Linked DNA regions of Homo sapiens: regions 2, 3, 4, 5, 6 and 7 are each linked to region 1. The links are contacts of gene promoters, found by promoter capture Hi-C in blood cells and fetal thymus (Javierre and others, 2016). All regions are on one chromosome and are shown on one strand. The core of a region is centred on a gene start or on the middle of the fragment in contact, and the rest is flanking DNA. Distances in the headings are between cores, read along the strand shown.

The links. The method cuts DNA at HindIII sites, captures the fragments that hold promoters and counts their contacts. A CHiCAGO score of 5 or more calls a contact.
Region 2: a fragment that was not itself captured here is called in contact with the fragment with the promoter of HTR2A in region 1 in 1 of 17 cell types (M2 macrophages); the score reaches 5.3 in M2 macrophages.
Region 3: a contact is called between a fragment that was not itself captured here and the fragment with the promoter of HTR2A in region 1, in 1 of 17 cell types (M2 macrophages). The highest score is 5.6, in M2 macrophages.
Region 4: a contact is called between a fragment that was not itself captured here and the fragment with the promoter of HTR2A in region 1, in 2 of 17 cell types (M1 macrophages and endothelial precursors). The highest score is 5.3, in M1 macrophages.
Region 5: a contact is called between a fragment that was not itself captured here and the fragment with the promoter of HTR2A in region 1, in 7 of 17 cell types (naive B cells, megakaryocytes, total B cells and 4 more). The highest score is 9.8, in naive B cells.
Region 6: a fragment that was not itself captured here is called in contact with the fragment with the promoter of HTR2A in region 1 in 1 of 17 cell types (endothelial precursors); the score reaches 5.7 in endothelial precursors.
Region 7: a contact is called between a fragment that was not itself captured here and the fragment with the promoter of HTR2A in region 1, in 2 of 17 cell types (M1 macrophages and M2 macrophages). The highest score is 6.1, in M1 macrophages.

Annotation. Positions count from the first base shown.
Region 1 is chr13:46,895,674-46,898,609 of GRCh38, reverse strand. It overlaps HTR2A (5-hydroxytryptamine receptor 2A), which reads left to right and starts at 1,557. Exons shown (of 4, transcript NM_000621.5): 1 at 1,557-1,936; 2 at 2,376-2,936. The coding sequence starts at 2,704. The HindIII fragment of the contact is 5,377 bases long and covers 1-2,936 here.
Region 2 is chr13:47,623,909-47,627,037 of GRCh38, reverse strand. No RefSeq gene overlaps it. Among named protein-coding and RNA genes, the nearest start is that of LINC00562, 310 kb to the left of the region's middle. The HindIII fragment of the contact is 3,753 bases long and covers 3-3,129 here.
Region 3 is chr13:47,659,330-47,662,289 of GRCh38, reverse strand. No RefSeq gene overlaps it. Among named protein-coding and RNA genes, the nearest start is that of LINC00562, 270 kb to the left of the region's middle. The HindIII fragment of the contact is 2,393 bases long and covers 383-2,775 here.
Region 4 is chr13:47,706,912-47,709,611 of GRCh38, reverse strand. No RefSeq gene overlaps it. Among named protein-coding and RNA genes, the nearest start is that of LINC00562, 220 kb to the left of the region's middle. The HindIII fragment of the contact is 1,143 bases long and covers 748-1,890 here.
Region 5 is chr13:47,776,797-47,779,712 of GRCh38, reverse strand. No RefSeq gene overlaps it. Among named protein-coding and RNA genes, the nearest start is that of LINC00562, 150 kb to the left of the region's middle. The HindIII fragment of the contact is 1,452 bases long and covers 569-2,020 here.
Region 6 is chr13:47,804,737-47,807,804 of GRCh38, reverse strand. No RefSeq gene overlaps it. Among named protein-coding and RNA genes, the nearest start is that of LINC00562, 130 kb to the left of the region's middle. The HindIII fragment of the contact is 822 bases long and covers 1,386-2,207 here.
Region 7 is chr13:47,747,866-47,750,674 of GRCh38, reverse strand. No RefSeq gene overlaps it. Among named protein-coding and RNA genes, the nearest start is that of LINC00562, 180 kb to the left of the region's middle. The HindIII fragment of the contact is 4,454 bases long and covers 1-2,809 here.

The sequences.
Region 1 (2,936 bases), core at 308-2,807:
AGTAACCAGAGTCCAGGCCTGCAAAGTGGGGCAAGCAGGGTACAGGTAGATGAAGAAAAGTGTTATGTGCCCCACAAGGAAGGGACTGCAGGAGTGTAGGCATGGGAGTGATGCCAATTGTGTCATTAATATCAGTAAGAATATCAATAGGAATGAAAGTGGCTGACATTACTTGAGAACCTCCTATAAGCCAGACATGGGCCAAATACTTACACACATTATCTCAGTTTAGCTTCACTACAATCTTATGAGGAAGGTATTATCCCATTTTACAAGTGAGAAGACTGAGCTTTAAAGGGAGCAACTAGATGAGGCGAGGTTCTACTGTTTATGAGTGATAGAGCTAGGATCCAAAACCAAGGAACTCTAAGGTCTGTGTTCTCCGCTGCCTGCTCGCCAGCGTGCATATTTAACGTGGAGGGGTAGGAGGGTGGCAGGCATGGCAGTGAGGGGGGCACTAAGGCACCCACCCAGGAAATAGGTGGCTAGATCTCGACCACAGGGTGCCAGCTGCAGGCTGCAGGAGAGGACATGTGAGAAACACGCATACAGAGGTAGCACCGGAGACGAAGTGGGATCTGGCAGCGAGAATGAAGGAAGAGTCGCGGATAACAGCAGCTGTCTGAAGAGGTGGTGATTCCATCATGCAAGCCAATGGGTAGGAACAAGCACTGAGAGCCGGGCAGGGGGATGCGGAGTGAGGGAAGATGCTGAGGTCAAGGTCTCCCAGGCTACCATGGAAGGAGCCAATGGGCAGCTAGAGATTTAGGTCTGGAACTGAGAGAAATAATCAGCTATGAAGGTACAGACTTGGCCACAAACATATTGAAGGCATGAGAGTGGTTGAATTTGTCCAGGGAGAATGTGAAGAACAGAAGGTGATAGAACTGTAGCAAAACCCAACTATTGAGGAAAATATTTTCATGCCTGCAAAAAGAGAGAGATCGAACTGCCTCCTTTAGAAACCTACTTGGGAAAGGGCTTTCTTTACAAGTAAGGCAAGTTGTCATTACTGGTGGGGGAAAAAAATTGGTACTGCGAAACCAACTTATTTCCTACCACATGTGAGGTTTTGAATAATATCTGGGTGGCATATTTCTGCTGAAGAAAATAAGCCAGTTCAATGGTGTATCTATTAAATAAAAATAGTGCTAATAGTTTATCAGAGTTATCACCACAGACGTGCCTAGCCACCCTGAGCCTATGTGGCCAATGTCAGTAATTCCACTCTGGACACAAACACTGTTGGCTTTGGATGGAAGTGCCGGACACTCACAGCACTCCGAGGACATACTGTTTTCTAGCCTTATTTATGTTCTCTCTTCACCCTTCAGCCTAAAAAATTACCACAGTGCCACTTACCTACCTTAATGGGAATCTGCACAAAAGGCCATTTCTCCAGTTTCTCTCAAAAGCAAAGGAAAACTTCCCAATATTAATATGTAGCAAAAAGAGGGAGAAGAAAAAGCCTGTTTGGTCCGCCCTCCTGGCTGTTGCTACCTTGCAGCTTATGACATACACATAGAGGGAGGTCTGATGAAATGAACGAGACAGTCAGAGAGCTACTCCATTCCCGTGGAAACCAGGAGTCCCTTGGTGCAGACAGCTCTTCCTACTTTCCCATGCAGTTCTTTTGTGCGACTTTGAGGGGCTCGTGAATGATTTCTAAATGTGTGCCTGCTGAGGCGAGCCGCACAGGGAGGGAGGAACCCAGCCGAGCCGTGCCAGAGGAAGCCAACAGGATCCTAGCAGTGCGGGAGCTGGCTCAGCTCTTGCATGCAGTTTTTGAAGTCAGCAAAACAGAAACCAAATTACTATCATATTATGCTGGTGGAAGATCAAGAAGAGGGGACTCTACACCAGTTTAATTACTGTGAGAGATGCAGCGAGTCACAGAATAACAAATGTATCTCATGTGTGGACCCTGAAGACAAATGTAAGTTCTCATGCCGCTATATTTTATTGCTGTGTAATTTTCTTTCCGGTTTGAAATCATGCTTGGCCAACATGTAATCATTTCAATGAGAATTTCCAGGGAGGAAAGTTGTCTGCTAATCTTTACTTAAGACTTTTTTGTTTTCCTTTTATTAGCTAAGCAACATTATAGGAGCTGAAATTCCTGACAGCAGCTGTGGCAATTCAGCTTAAGAATGGCTGAGAACTGTAACCCAAAGTACATCCAATTACTATGGGATTAACACTGGATGTATTTTTAATTGACTTTCTTAATGTAGAATGTGTACATCCCCACTGTTTCTGATTGCATGCTATTTTAATAATACTGTTGCTAAACTAGTACCATCGGCATAACCAACAAAATGAGATATAGTTAAACAAGAGTCCCAGTAGTTATAAAACTTTTCTTCTTTGTCCAGGACATTTATCTTCCCGAGCGCTCAAAAAAAACCCTGCAACCTCTATGCTAAAAGTTCATTCTGCTTTTTTGTCCTCGGTTTGGTGAGAAAATAATAAAACCAAACAGTGGACTCTCCTAAAATTGTGAATGAAGAAAACTTACAGCCACCACAGTTCAGTTCTTTAACTATCATTGTAATAATGGAAGACAAAAATCCAGCCCCGGGAGAACAGCATGTACACCAGCCTCAGTGTTACAGAGTGTGGGTACATCAAGGTGAATGGTGAGCAGAAACTATAACCTGTTAGTCCTTCTACACCTCATCTGCTACAAGTTCTGGCTTAGACATGGATATTCTTTGTGAAGAAAATACTTCTTTGAGCTCAACTACGAACTCCCTAATGCAATTAAATGATGACACCAGGCTCTACAGTAATGACTTTAACTCCGGAGAAGCTAACACTTCTGATGCATTTAACTGGACAGTCGACTCTGAAAATCGAACCAACCTTTCCTGTGAAGGGTGCCTCTCACCGTCGTGTCTCTCCTTACTTCATCTCCAGGAAAAAAACTGGTCTGC
Region 2 (3,129 bases), core at 630-3,129, 730 kb before region 1:
CTTAGGTATAAATGCATGTTGGTGTCTTTTCTTTATTTAATACCAGTGATCATTTCTACCTGGCTGTTTATCTGGATGATAACTCCAGATAATACATTGATTATTCATTCGAGGGCTATTATAAACATAACAGGACAGAAGAAAGCATTCCGCTATGTTCTTAAGGTGACTTTCACACTGTTATTTGTGATTCCCAAATAAGAGTCATCAGAATTACCTGGGGTATTAAATGAAAAACAGTTTTACTTTGAAATAATTTTTAAATCTGCAGAAAATTGCAATATTAATACAGAGAGCTCCTATATCCTTTTTATTAAGATTTAATAATTTTTAATGTTTTTTATATTTCCTTCAATCAAGGATATTCTTTTATCATCGTACAGTTATTAAGTTTCAAGAACTTAACATTGCTATTTTTATTTGTCTATATAATTTATATTCCAATTTTGTCCATTTTGTTAGTAATGTCTTTATATAATAATTTTTCTTCCAGTCCAAGCTCTAGTCTAGGATTATGTATTGCATTTAATTTTCATATTTCCTTAATCTCTGTTAAAGGAATATTGTCTTTTTTTGTCTTTTGTTGCATTGATACTTTAAAACAATAGAGGTCAGTTATTTATAGAATGATCCTTGCTTTGGGTTCATTTAGTGTTACCTCATAATTAAATTTAGGTTATGTATCCCTTACCAGAACACTACAAAAGTGACGTATGTCTTTTGCAGGGCTTCACATCCAGAGGTGCCACAATACCTATCTGCCTCTTGGTAGTTTTAATTTTGATCACCCGGTAAAGGTTTTATCCAGTTTCTCCACTGTATAGTTACCATTTTTCCTCTTATAAATAATTTATGAGAAAATGCTGTGAGATTGTGCATATATCCTACTTGTCATTAAACATTGCATCTAAGATTTAACAACCATTGTTGATTCTTGCCCAAGCTAGTCTCCACCATTATCAGTTGATTTTCTACTATAAGGAACAAGCCAGTATCCTATATATCTATGTATTATCTATATATTCTATTCATCCATCATCTATTTACATCTACCTCTGTTATCCATATGGACCCATAGATTCCTATTATACTCAATGGGTTATAATCTAATCTTATTTATTGTTCCAGCTTTGGCCGTGGGAACCCCTCTTCTTCAAGCTGGCTCCTATGTCTTTTTGACATGCTCACGTTGTGTGTGTGTGTGTGTGTGTATGGCGAGAAGTGGTTAGCAACATATCCTTACTTTCCCGAATAGCAAGATGTTCCAGCTCCTATTGTAACTACCTTGTTCCAGACCTGGGCTTACAGATCCCAACCATAAGCTAACTGAATTAAGTGTCAGGAAGTGTGGTCCAGATAGCTGTACTTTAAAATAAAAGCTCCTAAATGGTTCTGATGCTCTGCAGCTGTACAAACCACTGTGTTATTTAATAAAAGGGGCTATAAAATGCCTCATAATCAGGCTAATGATGGGATTCCCTGGCTCAGTGGTGAGTCCTTGATTTCTTCAGGAGTCTGTTTTACAATTTCAGACTGCCAAGATGACACCCAATTACCGTCCAGAAATGTCATCTTACTCACTGGTCAGATTGTGACAGTGTGGTTCTTTCTTTGTAATGTGTTTCCCTTTTAGACTGATTTTAATTCTGCATTACCTTAACATCTTTAATCTCAGCTTCAGATGCTGGATATATTCTTGCTTTCCCTTCCTCCCTGATTCATTGTTCAACAGCATAAAAAGGGCTTAATATAAGATGGACTGTCTACTGATAGTATGAGATGGACTATCAGATTGCAGAAAGGGAAGCAAGTTGTTGGACATGAGAGTTTATTCCTTGCATTAGTCAACATGTATTTATCGAGCATCCACTATGTTCAAGGAATTGTGATGTGCATGGAGCAGTTAACAAAGCAGTCATGTTTCTTTTTCCTTGGAAATTACTGTTTAGTGGGTTAAATCAATATTAGGAAAAGAACACATATTTGTAAAATTAAAAATGAGACGAAAGATCCAGGAAATCTTTCCTAAGTAAAAGATGATTGAGCTGAGGATTTGCAAGAATTAGAGGAGTTAATAGATATAACACTGGGGGATGAGAAGAATGTTCCTGGCAGAGGAGACAGCCTATGCAAAGGCCCTGTGGAAGAAGAGTATGGATCATTGTAAGACCTGAAATGTGACCACTGTGGCTGGAAAACAGAATAGTGACTAATGTGGTGAAAAATAGTATAGAAAAAAATAAAGAGCCAAGGTAATGCAGCCCCTATAATGTATATTAAAGATTTCTATCTTAAAAACAATGTAAAGCCATTGGAGCATTTAAATCTGAAGAGTGACATGATCAGATTTCTGTATTGGAAAGGTCACTATAATAGGAGAAATAGATCAAAGGAGGCAAGAGAAGACAAGGGAGGGGATCTTCTAGCTGTTGATGGACAGAAGAGGATAGATTCAGAAGATATAGAGGAGGGAAAGCGGCTGAATTTGTTGATGGATTAGTTATTGGGAGTAAGGGAGAGGCAGGTAAAAAAGCAAACTCATTATTTGAGACATGCACAAGACAACAGTGATACTATCACTGAGATGGGAATGATTTGAGAAACAGGTTTGGGGAAGATCACAAATTCACTTCTAGACATGTTGAAATTGAGGTGTGTTTTCAATATACAAGTACAGATGTTAAGTAGTCAAGAGCTCAGGAGAGAAATACAGGTTAGAGATATTTAGGGAGCTCTGAGTTATCTTTGTAGATAATCTTGAGTGAGATCACACACGTGAATAAAATGACCTATTAAGACGGTAGAGAGGAAGAAGAGAAAAAGATCTAAAAATGAACCTCGGAAACTCTAACATTTACTGGCCAATAGACTGGAGGAAGAGCATGTTGTGAAGAGTACAGAAAACAAGTGGCCAGAGGACAGGGCTGTGTCACAGGGCAAAGCTAGAGAATGTTGTAGGAAGAAGTGCCTGGTCAGCAGGATCAAGTGTTACCAAGAGGTAATGTAAGATAAACAAAAATTGTCCATGAGCTTAAGTGGCATGGAAGTCATTGTTGACTTTGCCAAAAGATGTCAGTGAAATGATGAAGGTAAAAGTAAAATATGAGTAAAAGGTTAGAAAAATGAAGA
Region 3 (2,960 bases), core at 330-2,829, 760 kb before region 1:
ATTTTTTCATGTTGGTCATTTGTGTTCTTTTGAAAAATGTGGGTTCATGTCCTTTGTCCACTTTGTAATGAGGTTTAAATTATAAGGTAACACTAATAAGTTTTGTAATTAGGATGTTGAGAAAATACTGGAGCTTAAGAGATTAATGCTTCTAAAACACAAAAGACTTTCTCCCCTCTTGTTTTCTCCCAGAAATTTTCTTAGACTAACATTCTTGGTGTCTCTCCCCACCATGTGAGCAGGAGTAATGTATTAGTCTAGTGGCTTTGGAAAAGGAGCTCAGCTCAGGCCTGCTTTCTTCAATGTTTTAAAGTTAGTGGTAGAAACCCTCAGAAGCAAAGGCTGTATCAGTCCATGTCTCCCTGGGCTTGAGTGGGAAGCTTAGATCTGGGCTTCATCTTAGGCCTCTTGGACTGTAACACATAAACCTTTCTTTTCAACAATGATAGTAAATTAATGAGAATAAAAGGGATTTGTTAGTCTCTGGCTGATTTCTCTGAAACTTCTACTGTATCCTAAATTCAGGTTTTGGGGGAAGGAGCAGTTTTTAAATAACCCCCCAAAACCCCAAAGAGGACATTCCAGGAAGAAGAAACTATGTTGTTAGAGATGAGAGTGAGGGGTATAAAATGCATAGAAACACTTTCATCTGGAAACAAGCATTTTAATTGTAGGGAATATGCTAAGTTACTTCTCATTTTATTGATCCATTACTTGGAAAATTCTATACTATGTTGTCAGCATTTTGCTGATACCATATTTTATAATGAACAATTCAAAAATTCAGTCTCTTATGACAACAAATATTCATTACTTGTAAGTCTGAGAGTTGGCCAAGGCTCTGCTGGGTTTCACCATGCTTGCCATGTCTTCTCACTCTGGGATCTTCTCTGGGATGAGTTACTGTCATGGTGGATGGCAGGAATGCAAATGGAACAAACCAAAACTTGTAATACCTCTCACAGACGTTGCTCACATCTGGCATACTGTCATCTCCACGCACATTCAATCAGTTAAACTCACATGACTAAGCCCAAAGCCAGTGGGGGCAAGGAAGTATGATTCACCCACAGTAAATTGTGGCACGGATGGGACTGTGTTACAGTCTCCCACATATGCCATTGGCTTTCATTTAGCTTCCGTATATAATATCTTTAGCTGCTTTTTATGCTATTTGCATTATATAACTTATTTATTTATCTGTCTTTGATAAAACTCTGAAGATTTTCACTTTTTTTTTGGTTTATTTTCCTGCTGTAAAGAGCTATTAAACGTTCTTCTATATGAATGCCTAGACTACTTTTCTGAGTTATTTTAATATTTTATTCATGAAACTCTGGGGAATCCAGTGAGACTGGACATATTCTTTCTTACCGGAAAATATTTTATTTATTAACCTTTGGTGGGAGAGTAAATTAGTTCAACCATTATGGAAGACAGTGTAGTGATTCCTCAAAGACCTAAAGATAGAAATACCATTTGACCCAGCAATTCCATTACTGTGTATATATCCAAAGAAATCTAAATCATTCTATCATAAAGACACAGGCACATGTATGTTTATTGCAGCACTATTCACAATAGTAAAGACAGGGAATCAACCTAAATACCCATCAACAATAGACTGGATAAAGAAAATGTGGTACATATACACCACAGAATACTCTGCAGCCATAAAAAAGAATGAGATCATGTCCTTTGCAGGGACATGGATGAAGCTGGAGGCCATTATCCTTGGCAAACTAAACAAGAACAGAAAACTGAATACTGCATTTTATCACTTACAAGTGGGAGCTAAGTGATAACACATGGATACATAGAAAGAAACAACACACACTGGGGCATTTTGGAGGTTGGGAGTTGGGATGAGGGAGAGGATCAGGAAAAATAACTAATGGGTACTAGGCTTAATACTCAGGTGATGAAATAATCTGTACAACACACCTCCATGACACATGTTTAACTATGTAACCTGTACATGTACCCCTGAACTTAAAAGTTAAAAAAATTAAATGAACCAGGCTCCTTATAACTGTTCCATCTGTGATAGGCAGACTCCAGGGTGCCTCCTCGACCCCTGCCTCCTGATACCCCAACCATTGTGGTCCCCTTGCTTTGAAAGTGGGCAGGATCTTTAACCCAGGATCTTTAACCAATAGAATATGACAAGAGTGATGGGTTGTATGTGATTAGGAAACTGAGGTCCTCAGTCCAACAGCTTATAAGAAGTTGATGCTGCCAACCACCATGTAGGCTTCGAAATGGATCCTTCCCCAGTCAGTCCTCAGATGAGGCTGCAGCCCTGGCTGATATTTTGACTGGAACCTTATGATATGAAGTAGAGGACTCAGCTAAGCCTTTCTCATACTCCCGATTCATTGAAATGGTGAGATAATAAATGGGTATCATTTTAAGCTGCTAAGTTTGTGGTAATATTGTTACACAGCAATAGAAAACTTCTAAATCCATTGTTTGTTTTAGAGTACCAAGGATAAAGTGTCTTAATTTGCTTCCTGCCAGTTCTATGCTTTATTTCATTTTGATCTCCTATTTTATTACAATTGGCTTAGTTGATGTATTAATGTCAAGAACTTTTGTTGGTAAGCACTGTGTAAGCAGATTTGCTTAAATCCCTTTATGTCATATGTGCTTGTGTTTACAGAGAATTAAAAATACATACTTGTTAAGTTACTAAACCTCTACAATGTATATGGCACAATTCTACGTAGTGGAGTTGGATACACAGACAGACATGATCCCTGCTTTCATAAAGCTTATTGGAAGAGTCAGAATAACAATTAAATACAATTTAAAAATTACACATTTGAATAACTGCATAGAAGACATAAATAGGCTACTGTGCTCTAGAATAACTAGAGGATCTTTTCTAGCAAAGTCTCTTGAGGAGTTAGCATTTAAGTTGAGATTCAAAAGAAGAGAAGAGGAAAAATACAGTGTTT
Region 4 (2,700 bases), core at 70-2,569, 810 kb before region 1:
GGCCACTCCTCCCTTGCATAAGGCATGAATTCCTGGTGGCTCCATCCCATTCCCCCAGTGCTCAGGCAGGCACGCCCTGGCAAGCCATAGATAGTATTGGAAAAGGCAGCATTTGATTGGTTGAAAGGCCTTATTCAGAAAGAATCAATTGGGAAAGGGTGGACAAACAGGGGCAGAAGTTTTCCCTCTGGGTTGCAGGTTTCATCCGGAACCAGCACTCTGGTCTTTCAGCTTTCAGGCTGCTTTAAGCTTGAAGCGGGGGTCTCACCCGAGACCCTTCCCTAGCTGCCTAGGCATTTGTCTGCCTCCTGCCTTTATTAGAGCAAGATTGAAAGAGGCTGGCCAGAGAGCCCCTTGCCCAGGTCTGAGAGCTCAACACAGCTGCGGGGAACCTTGGAAGTATGGACGTCTTCATCACTTGAGGGCTGATGTCCAGCTGGGGTGATCTCAGGGGGAGTTTCTGTAGTTTGCTCCTCTTCCCCTTTGGCTCTATGAGGCTGAGAGAGAAGGAAGATAGAGAAGGAAAGGCAGAAAAGACATGAGAGACCAGTTTGGGCACCCTTATACCTACTGTAGTTGTCTGACCTGCAGGCTAGGCCTGGGTTAAAGGGGAGGAGAAAGTTGTAAATGTGATCTTGGTGTTTTGATATGACTCTACTGGACTTTCAATATCTAAGAGTGAGTCTTAAAGTGAATGAAAGTGGTGGGAGCTGCCTGAGCTCTTGTCCAGGGATGGAACAGAAAGCTTTGACGTAGCAGACCAGCAATGGGAGAAAAAAGAAGTGTTTCCTGGTTGTACCTTGTTGTGACCATCTCATGTAATAAGCCACACAGAACCTGATATGTTGCTGTAAATGGCAAATTCTTGGTAAGTGCTAAGTGAAAGGCAGTTTTGTGATCATCCTTTTTATCTTCCCTGTGTATCAAGTGAGTCAGAACTAAATCACCACTTTGCAGACACAGAGGGCACGAGGTAACAAGAGTTAAGCAATGCCTGACAACCAAAAATCCAAGAATGTCAGTAATCAAATCATACTTTAAAGTTCACCCTCTGACCCACTTGCCTGGGAAAATGCCAAGGAAATAAACAGGAAAGACGAAGTCTCTTAATACACAATACGCATTTGTATTGAACAAATGTGCTGTCCCTCCCAGGGAGCAGGATGATGTTGACACACCTTGAGTGACATTTCCCAGATGCTGTCCCTGAAAAGCCCCCTTTATAAAGCCTTCAAGACATTTCAGTAAACTGGGGAAGGAGTTGTGGTTTTCAATGGTCCATAGGTCATGGGAATAGCAGGGTGTGAATCCATTCCTGCTCTTCTTGGCTTTGGTGTGGGATTAGCATAATTCCATCTTTTTGTAATCCTAAATCATGCCATTTCTCCACGTCTGCATCTTATAAGTAGAGAAGAGCCTACGTACAAACTCTCAGGGTAAGGAGGATCTGGAAGGCATGACTATGCTAGTGAATATCAATTTTCATGACATGAACTGGCCTGGGGAAAGCATAGATGATTGAAATACACACATAATCCAAAAATGTCATCTTAGTCAATTGCATTAATCCTTACCAGCCATCTTCACTGAGACCTTAAGTTCTTAATAGACTAGTTTGAGTTTTATTTTTTTTTCTTCTTGCCAACCTAATACTTGGGGATAATGACAAGCACTGAAATGAAAAGAAAGTAGGTAAAATGATGGAACAGGGTAGTCGAATTTGTAAACTGGATCATCAGCCTTTGAATGCTTTGGAGTCAGCTATAAATACTGTTTTGTGATTATGTGTAAGCATCTGGGTGATTTAAACCCACAGTCTGTGAAATGTGACAGGATAGATGTACCCTGCACCTGTTTTTCTTCCTCTTTGGATTTGTTAATAATGAAGCTTATACAACTCAAGAAAATTACCACTGACAGAATCACAGGAGGCTCAGTGCTTTGGGCGGTATAAATTTTAGGCGATTGAGTCTGCATGTGAAACAAACCTTTGTTGGGTCAGACCACTTCCTGGAATAGAACACTATTGAGATTTGCCATGATTGATTCTGAGAATCTTGGGGTCACTTTCTCTAGTATTGTTAGAAAAAAAAAAACCCACACATAAAATCAATACAGTCAGGAATAGCATCTACCGAACAGTTTAACATGTCCTTCTCTCCTTTAGGAATTAGCTTATTTTTCATTCACAGGAATACTTTGCTCTTTTGAATGCTTACCCTACCTTTATTCGAGCTGACTGGTATTCAGCTGCAGCCCAGGGACCTGCCTGAGCCTGTGTACAGCTCTCTGCCCCCACTGAGACCTCCAAATACTGTCTGCTCCTGATTACCTTAATTCATATATATACCCCCATTCATTTCATTCATTTGCCATATACCCCCCAATCATTTCATTCATTTATTATATATCTTATTTATTTATTTACTTTTTGAGATGGAGTCTTGCTCTGTCACCCAGGCTGGAGTGCAGTGGCATGATCTCAGCTCACTGCAAACTCTGCCTCCCAGGTTCAAGCCATTCTCCAGCCTCAGCCTCCCGAGTAGCTGGGACTACAGGTGCATGACACGTGTCCAGCTAATTTTTGTACTTTTACTAGAGACGGGGTTTCACCATGTTGGTCAGGATGGCCTTGAACTCCTGACCTCAGGTGATCCACCCACCTTGGCCTCCCAAAGTGCTGGGATTACAGGCGTGAGA
Region 5 (2,916 bases), core at 45-2,544, 880 kb before region 1:
TGTGAGGGATCTAGGTTTTGTGTTCCTTATGAGAATCTAATGTCTGATGATCTGAGGTAGAATAGTTTCATCCTGAACCTAACGACCACCACAGTCCATAGAAAAATTATCTTCCATGAAACCAGTCCCTGATGCCAAAAAGTTTGGGGACCACTGCTTTAGAGGACTACATAAGGATAATGATATTAATAGCCACTATGTATAAGCTAAACACCCCACACAAACATATACATCATCTACTATGCTCATCCAATCCTGATCACTGAGAAGAAGATTGCATTTCAAAGGTGTTAATTAACCCAAGGGTACTTGCTGTGGTGAGGCTTGGCTTCAAATCTGGTTCTCATGGTCTCCAAAGAATGAGTTCCATCAATACCTACTTTATTGAGAGTTTTTAGTATGAAGGGGTGTTGAATTTTATCGAAGGCCTTTTCTGCATCTATTGAGGTAATTGTGTGGTTTTTGTCATTGGTTCTGTTTATGTGATGGATTATGTTTATTGATTTGTGTATGTTGAACCAGCCTTGCATCCCAGGGATGAAGCTGACTTGATTGTGGTGGATAAGCTTTTTGATGTGCTGCTGGATTTGGTTTGCCAGTATTTTATTGAGGATTTTCACATCAATGCTCATCAGGGATATTGGCCTGAATTTTTCTTTTTTTGTTGTCGGTGTAAATTAGTTTGACAATTGTGGAAGACAGTGTGGTGATTCCTCAAGGATCTAGAACCAGAAATACCATTTGGCCCAACAATCCCATTACTGGATATATACCCAAAGGATTATAAATCATTCTACTATAAAGACACATGCACACGTATGTTTATTGCAGCATTGTTCACAACAGCAAAGATTTGGAACCAACCCAAATGTCCATCAATGATAGACTGGATAAAGAAAATGTGGCACATATACACCATGGAGTACTATGCAGCCATAAAAAAGAATGAGTTCATGTCCTTTGCAGGGATATGGATGAAGCTGGGAACCATCATTCTCAGCAAACTAATGCAAGAACAGAAAACCAAACACCACCTGTTCTCACTCATAAGTAAGAGTTGAACAATGAGAACACATGGACACAGGGAGGGGAACATCACACACGGGTTGGGTGGGGGTGGCTAGGGGAGGGGTAGCATTAGGAGAAATACCTAATGTAGATGACGGGTTGATGGGTGCAGCAAACTGCCATGGCACGTGTATACCTATGTAACAAACCTGCACGTTCTGCACATGAATCCCAAAACCTAAAGTATAATTTAAAAAAAAGTTAAAAAAAAAAAAGAATGAGTTCAGGAGATCCCTCTATGACCACACTGTCTCCCTTCCTTACTACTCAATTGATGCCTCCTTTAAGAAGGTAAATGCTTTTATCCAATTTATAGAACTGTTTGAACTTGATGGATATAAATGTAAATGTTTGAATGTTTTTCTCCAATGCCTTTTTCACCTGTGCTTTGTTCAGGCTTCTTTCTCCAGCCATAAATGACATTTTGGGTAGCACCATAGCCCTCAGATCACTTTCAGTTATTCTGTTAATGCAGTCTGTGGGAGGCAGCTTCTGGAATGACCCTCATGTTGGAGAGGCCCATATGGCAGGGAACTCAGGGTCACCTCTGGCCAACAGGAAGGGAGATACTGAGGCCCTCAGTCTAAGAGCTCATAAGTAATGGAATCCTGCCAACAACCACATGAATGAGCTTGGAAGTGGATTCTTCCCAGTGGAGCCCTGAGATTACTGTAACCCCAGCTAGCATCCTGATTGCAGCCTGAAGCAGAACACCCAGCTAAGTTGTACCCAGATTCCTGACCCATAGAAACAGAGTAAATGTGTGTGGTTTTAAGCCACTACATCTCTTATAAGAGACCAAACTGTGTTAGTCCATTCTGGTATTGCTATAAAGAAATACCTGAGGCTGGGTAATTTATAAGAAAGAAGAGTTTGTTTTGGATCATGGTTCTGCAGGCTGTACAGGAAGTGTGGTGCCAGCATCTGCTCCTGGTGATAACCTCAGGAAGCTTCCAATTATGGTGGAAGGAGAAGGGGAACCAGTATGTCATATAGTGACAGAGGGAACAAGAGGGAGAGAAAGGAGAGGTCCCAGACTTTTAGACAACTAGATCTTTCTAGAACTAACAGCAAGAACTTACTTATCCCCAAGGGGATGGAGCTAAACTATTCATGAGGGATCCACCCCTATGATCCAGTCACCTCCCACCAGGCCCTACCTCCAACACTGGGAATCACATTTCAACATGAGATTTGGAAGGGACAAACATCCAACCTATATCAATAATGAATGTACTGACCCAGCTTAAAATTTCAACTGGACATCCAATTTAATGATTATTTTCTATCATCCTCCTTTCCCCTTTCTGTCTGTGGTCAGGAGACTTGCAGAACCTGCCCTTTCATTTCTTCCTCCACCTCTGCTCTTTTGGGTTTCTGTCTCCTTTGGTAGGAGCTGTGGAGGGATATGGAAAGACACAGTGTTTCTTGTCTGACATCTTCATCATTTTTCTGCTGTTACTTTGCTTCTCTGGCTTTGAGTAAATGTCTCTTGGACAAGCATTCCCCTCTTTCAGGACATATGTGTGAGTGGGTTCTTTGTAGAACGCTTTGGAGCTTCCCCGCAGGTTCCTGATCTTTTCTGATTCCTCTATAGAGTCTTCATCCCAGACAATCCACTCTACAGGTTCTCATTGTTGGGATCCACCTGCCAGCAGGATCTTGCGTGGGCATCTGCAAGCTGGCTCAAGTCCAGCTACCTTCAATTTTGTCCATTTTCCGCTGTTCATCTGCCTCCAGCTCTTTCTGCTTTGCTGTTCCTCCCAATTCCAATGGCTGGGTTGAGCAAATAAAACACAGGACACCCAGCTGAATTTGCACTAGATCTTAGCCAAAGGGCCAAGAAGT
Region 6 (3,068 bases), core at 547-3,046, 910 kb before region 1:
TGTTCTTTTCACTGAATGTTCTCTTCCTGGTCTCTCTCATCTGCTCTCTAGGTTTTAACTATCGCCATATACTATGATTCCTTATCTGTATATCTCCATGCTTAACCTCTCCAATTTGCTACAGATTCCCACATCTAGTTCTCTGTTGGGCTCTTTTGGATTTTCTTCAGGTTTAACTTGTTCCATACTACGTCTGTTTACTATAACTTGAGATTTGAGTTACTTTCTAGATTTCCAGCATTTTGATAGTTTCCCATGTTGGTAGTCTCACCATTTCATGATAGATTAAAAAATTTTTGTTCTAGGCTATTTGGAAGAATGCGATTCAGGTACTTCCAGTCAGATACATCCGTGCAAGACTTGGATAGAGAAGTAACATAAGGAGGCAGCTGTGGGAAGACTGACCATCTGGTAAGCGATGGTGGAGGTATCTGGTTCTTCTGGGGCTCCTGTGGCAGAGTTTTGGCATCCAGTCCCATGTGTGTTCTGGGACAAGTGGCCGGTGGCCAAGGTGGCTAGTCTTTCCTGTGATTATTGCTTGTGGATGGTTTCAAGATATGCACCATTTAGATGGAATTCTTTGGTTTCTCTAGAAATTCTGCAAGCTAACCATATCCTTTAATAAATTACCTTCTGTTTAAACCAGAGAGTATTGTTTGCAACTACCAATACTAATTGCTATGGGCCTCAAATTAAGAGCTTTGATGTTATCTCTCAATGGAGTTATACATACATTTGTATTTTTGTGTGTGTGTATGTACATGTTATAAGCATTAATTTTTTGAATAGATTATTTTTCAGATCAGTTTTAGATTCACAGCAAAATTGTGTGGAGAGTACACAGAGTTTCCATATTCCCTGCCCCGACACATGCATAGTTTTCTCCATTATCAACACCCCCCACAAGACTGGTTACAATCGGTGAATCTACAATGACATGTCATTATCACCCATAATCCATAGTGTGCATTAGAATTTACTCTTAGAGTTGTACACTGTACGGGTTTTGGCAAATGTACAATTATATGTATCCAATATTATAGTATCATGCAGAGTCATTTTGCTGCCCTAAAAATCCTCCATGTTCCACCTCTCTCTCCCTCTTTCCCCTTAAGCCCCTGGCAATCACTGATCATTTTACCTCTCTGTAGTTTTACCTTTTCCAAAATGTCTTAGAATTGGAATCACATAGTTTTTCAGATTTGTTTCTTCTACTTAGTAATATGCATTTAAGTGTCCTCCGTGTCTTTTCATGGCTTAATAGCTAATTTCTTCTTAGCACCCAATAGTATTTCATTGTATGGATGTATCACAGTTTATTTAACCACTCACCTACTGAAAGACATTTTGATTATTTTCAAGTTTTGGCCATTATGAATAAAGCTTCTATAAACATCGATGTAGAGATTTTTGTGTGGAAATAAATTTCTATCTCATCTAAGTAAATATCAAGGAGCATGATTGCTGGATTATGTGGTAAAAGTACATTCATTTTGTAAGAAATTGCCAAACTTTCTTCCAAAGTGGCTGTATCATTTTGGATTCTCACCAGAATTAGAATGAATGAATGAGAGTTCTTGTTGCTCATCCTTGCCAGCAGTTGGTGTTGTCAGTGTTTTGGATGTTGGCCATTCCAATAGGTGTGTAATGGTATCTCATTGTTGTTTTATTTTAAATTCCCTAATGACATATGATGTTGAGTGTCTTTTTATATGCATATTTGCTTAAAAGTATTACTTTTTAAATCATAAATTTGCAATTCTATTTTGGTTCTCTTTGTATTTCATTTTTCTGGGAGCCTAAAAAACTAGAAATCACCCAGGGTTCTCTTGAGCTTTGAGATGGTCTGCCTAAAGTTGAAGACGAAGGATAAAGCAGGAAAAATGGGAAATCACTGTGAAGAAGTAGACTGTCACACATAAACAGTGATGCTACTGAAAATGAAATATTAGAGAATAGACAATATCTTTTCCTTTCTGAAGGAAATCAGAAATCCTTTCTGAAGGATTCTGAAGAGTGAATCAGAGTCTCATGTGTTCTACTTGCTGTTTGGTGAGGAGGAAAGTAGCTATGAAATAGGTTTTTATGTGTAGTGGCTCAACAATGACCTCAGGCTGATATAATGAGGGTGATCATCCTTATTATGTAGGAAATACCCCTGCATGCTTTCACCTTGACCCGCTTCAAAGGAGGGAGTTTGCAAAGCTTATTGGTCTATTAGCAAACCTCATTTCCCCTCTTTTTTTCTGAACAATGAGCATCTACCTATCATAGAGATGTTATTAAGATAAAATGTGATAATGGTGTGAAGGTATTTTGAAAATATGAAGTATTTTACAAATGAAAAAGTTTAAAGGCTTGATTTTCCACTTTGGCTTCTTTTTAAAATTTTTATTATTTTTATTATTTTGTGTTTTTAAAAATATGTATATTTATTATACTTTAAGTTCTGAGGAACATATGCAGAACGTTCAGTTTTGTTACATAGGTATACAGTGCCATGGTGGTTTGCTGCACCCATCAACCCATCACCTATATTAGGTATTTCTCCTAATGCTATCCCTCCTCTAGCCCCCCACCCCCCGACAGGCCCTGGTGTCTGATGTTCCCCTCTGTGTGTCCATGTGTTCTCATTGTTCAACTCCCACTTATGAGTGAGGACATGCGGTATTTGGTTTTCTGTTCCTGTGTGATACTTTGCTGAGAATGATGGCTTCCAGTTTCATCCATGTCCCTGCAAAGGAAATGAACTCATTGTTTTTTATGGCAGCATAGTATTCCATGGTGTATATGTGCCACATTTTCTTTATCCAGTCTATTATTGATGGACATTTGGGTTGGTTCCAAGTCTTCACTGTTGTGAATAGTGCCACAATAAACATATGTGTGCATGTGCCTTTATAGTAGAATGATTTATAATCCTTTGGGTGTATACCCAGTAATGGGATTGCTGGGTCAAATGGTATTTCTAGTTCTAGTTCCTTGAGGAATTGCCACACTGTCTTCCACAATGGTTGAACTAATTTACACCCCCACTAACAGTGTAAAAGCTTCCTATTTCTCCACAT
Region 7 (2,809 bases), core at 253-2,752, 850 kb before region 1:
AGCTTTGCTGGTGGTCCCATTTGCAGACGAATAAATTGGGGTGAGACAGGTGAACTATGTAGTCTGAGTTCAAACTCACAACTCAGTTTGCCTGCCTCAAAGACCATGCTCTTAATTTCTTTTTTCTTTTCTTTTTGAGATGGAGTCTCACTCTGTTGCCCAGGCTGGAGTGCAGTGGTGCAATCTTGGCTCACTGCAGCCTCTACCTCCTGGGTTCTAGTGATTCTCCTGCCTCAGCCTCTCGAGTAGCTGGGATTATAGGCGTGTGCCACAATGCCTACCTAATTTTTGTATTTTTAGTAGAGAGGGGGTTTCACCATGTTGGCCAGGATGGTCTCAATCTCTTGACCTCGTGATCCACCCGCCTTGGCCTCCCAAAGTGGTGGGATTACAGGCGTGAGCCACTGCGACCGGCCCATGCCCTTAATTTCTGTACATGTTTCCTCCCTCTGAGAATGAGCACAGGGTAGAGTCTTGCTACCTCTGCCCTGATTTTATGCCCTTTATGTGTTGTGGGTGGTGGAGGGCTAGTGCTCTGATCCTGGATTTTAGCCCAGATAAAGAACTGAGTTTTCTGAGAACACCTCACATTTCCAATAGTTAAGACTTTTATTAAACTTGTAATATTTGGTAACATTTTCTTAAAGTCTTGGTGGTGGTAAACTATCACTTTATAGCCCCAGTTCTTTATATTCCTTCTTGGTTAGGAGACGCAGGCAATTAAAGCAAATTTATGGAAACAGATTTCATACTTAGCCTTGTAACAAAATTTCACCCCAAACTAAAAACAACCACTTAACCATATGGAAGAGCTAATTTAGTTTCAACCCAGCAATTTTGAAATAAGTACTCGTATAATAAAATTTCAATTATAGTAGTTCTTCTCTAGAACTTACTGTGTATATACTTAAAATTTTGTAATCCATGCTATTATGGTTGATTTAATATTCTGTTATTTCCAACTCATATTAAACTCCTTTTTTGTTTTTTTTTTTTTTTTAAAATTTGACTTCTGGATTCACGTCAGTGACTCTGTAACCATGTTTCTTGTTCCTTTCTTTATATAATGGGTAAAGGGGAGATGGCCTTGGGTAGTCTAATTTGTAGCTCTGGCAGTGATGTCTTTTTAACCCCCCAGAATATATTTAAGAAATATGCATGTAAATCATAGTCATATCTAAGGAATAAAAACGATAAAAAGAACAAAGTAGCTGGGGTTGAAACAGAAAAGGCAGACTATCTCTTCCCACTACCCCGTGAATCAGATAGATGGATGTGTCTGTGCTTAGGCGACCCATGGTGAGACAGGCAGGGAGGGGTGGGGGGGGCAGGAGAGAGACAGAGAGAGAGATAGGGAGAGAGACAGAGAGAGAGAGAACTAGAAAAGTTCTTTATTAGTATTTCTACAAGAAATACACTAGATGGTTTGGGGTCAAAACCAGTCGGTTTTATATGTGACCCTCTGCACCCCACTTTTAATGTGTTTTCTCTGCTCAGATGGCATTTAAAAAATCATATAACAGTTTCCTTCTAAAACAGACTTCTGGACTTATTTTTTCCTTTAATCTATACCTGCCAGTTTGGGACAGTATTGCCTTCACTTGATGAAAATCTTTGCTATTAATTGAGGATGTAGCTAATATTTCTGTCATAGACAGCAAGGTGACACAGGATTACTTTTCATATATCTCTCATGCCCGGGGAGAATGAACACAAAGGTTTCCCTTTTCAGCACAAGATAGAAGATTCCTAATTTTAATGTCAGAGTGACACCTTAGCGGAGTTTGTATCTGGTTAAAGGGTTGTAAGTATCAGGATAGCCTGTTCTCCAGTACTTCCCGCATGCCCTCTTCATAAGTGGGACCCCTCATCTCCCTTTATCCATCTCTAGGGTGCTCTGAAGGTAGTCAGTGTTTCCCTGTGCATCTGATTTGATCTTTAAAGACCCACAGCACTAATAGATTTATCTTTTCACATTCAAAGCATTCAGCTTATAATAGTTCCCCATTTCATGACTGATAATTTTGTTGTACAACCTTAAATGACTCCAAGCACTGGTAAGGGCACCCTAATATTTTCCTGTGACTTTACCTAATTTCCAGACTCTGAGCAACAGCCTCCATTACACATATCTCCTTGTTCTTTTGGACAATTACATTATGAACGTAGCAGTCAGGACACAGTCAGGAGACAGAGACCACCACTTGTTTTGTTTTAAAAGAGAGAATTTAATGTAAAGAACGGTTAACTAAGAAATGAAAGGCAAAATGAATGAAGTTATTGTGGAGGGATCAAATGCAGGAAGTAGCTACCACTGTTGGGGCTGGGAGAACAAGGAGAAAAGGTGGGAATTGGAAAACCTTAGAAACATGGAAGAGAGATCTCACGGAGCTGAAACCGAGAATTCTGAGAAGGAGCCATTGCTTAGCAGGTACTTGTTTCTCTGAGCTGAGAGTAGGTTTCCTGGCTTCTAAGGCAGGGACACTGGTTGGCCGGTATTTCTGATGGCATACAATGGGGCTAGATGCACAAGTACCGGGAAAATGCACTGGTTCCGTTGATGCTCTGGGAAGGAGCTGCACCTGCTGGTGTAGAGAAGGAAAGCAGGGTGACACAGGAAGCAAGGAGGAAGGAGCAAATCTCTTCTACCTCCTCTAGCCTTGCAATCTCTGTTTAATTCTCCTGTCGGCAGCACCTGACAAGGAGAAGCTGGCAGGAGAATCACAGGGGAGAGTACAGAGGGTGGGTTTGGCACTGAGAGGCAGTGGCCTATTATCTGGCACACTGAGCTATCACTGTACAAATGCTT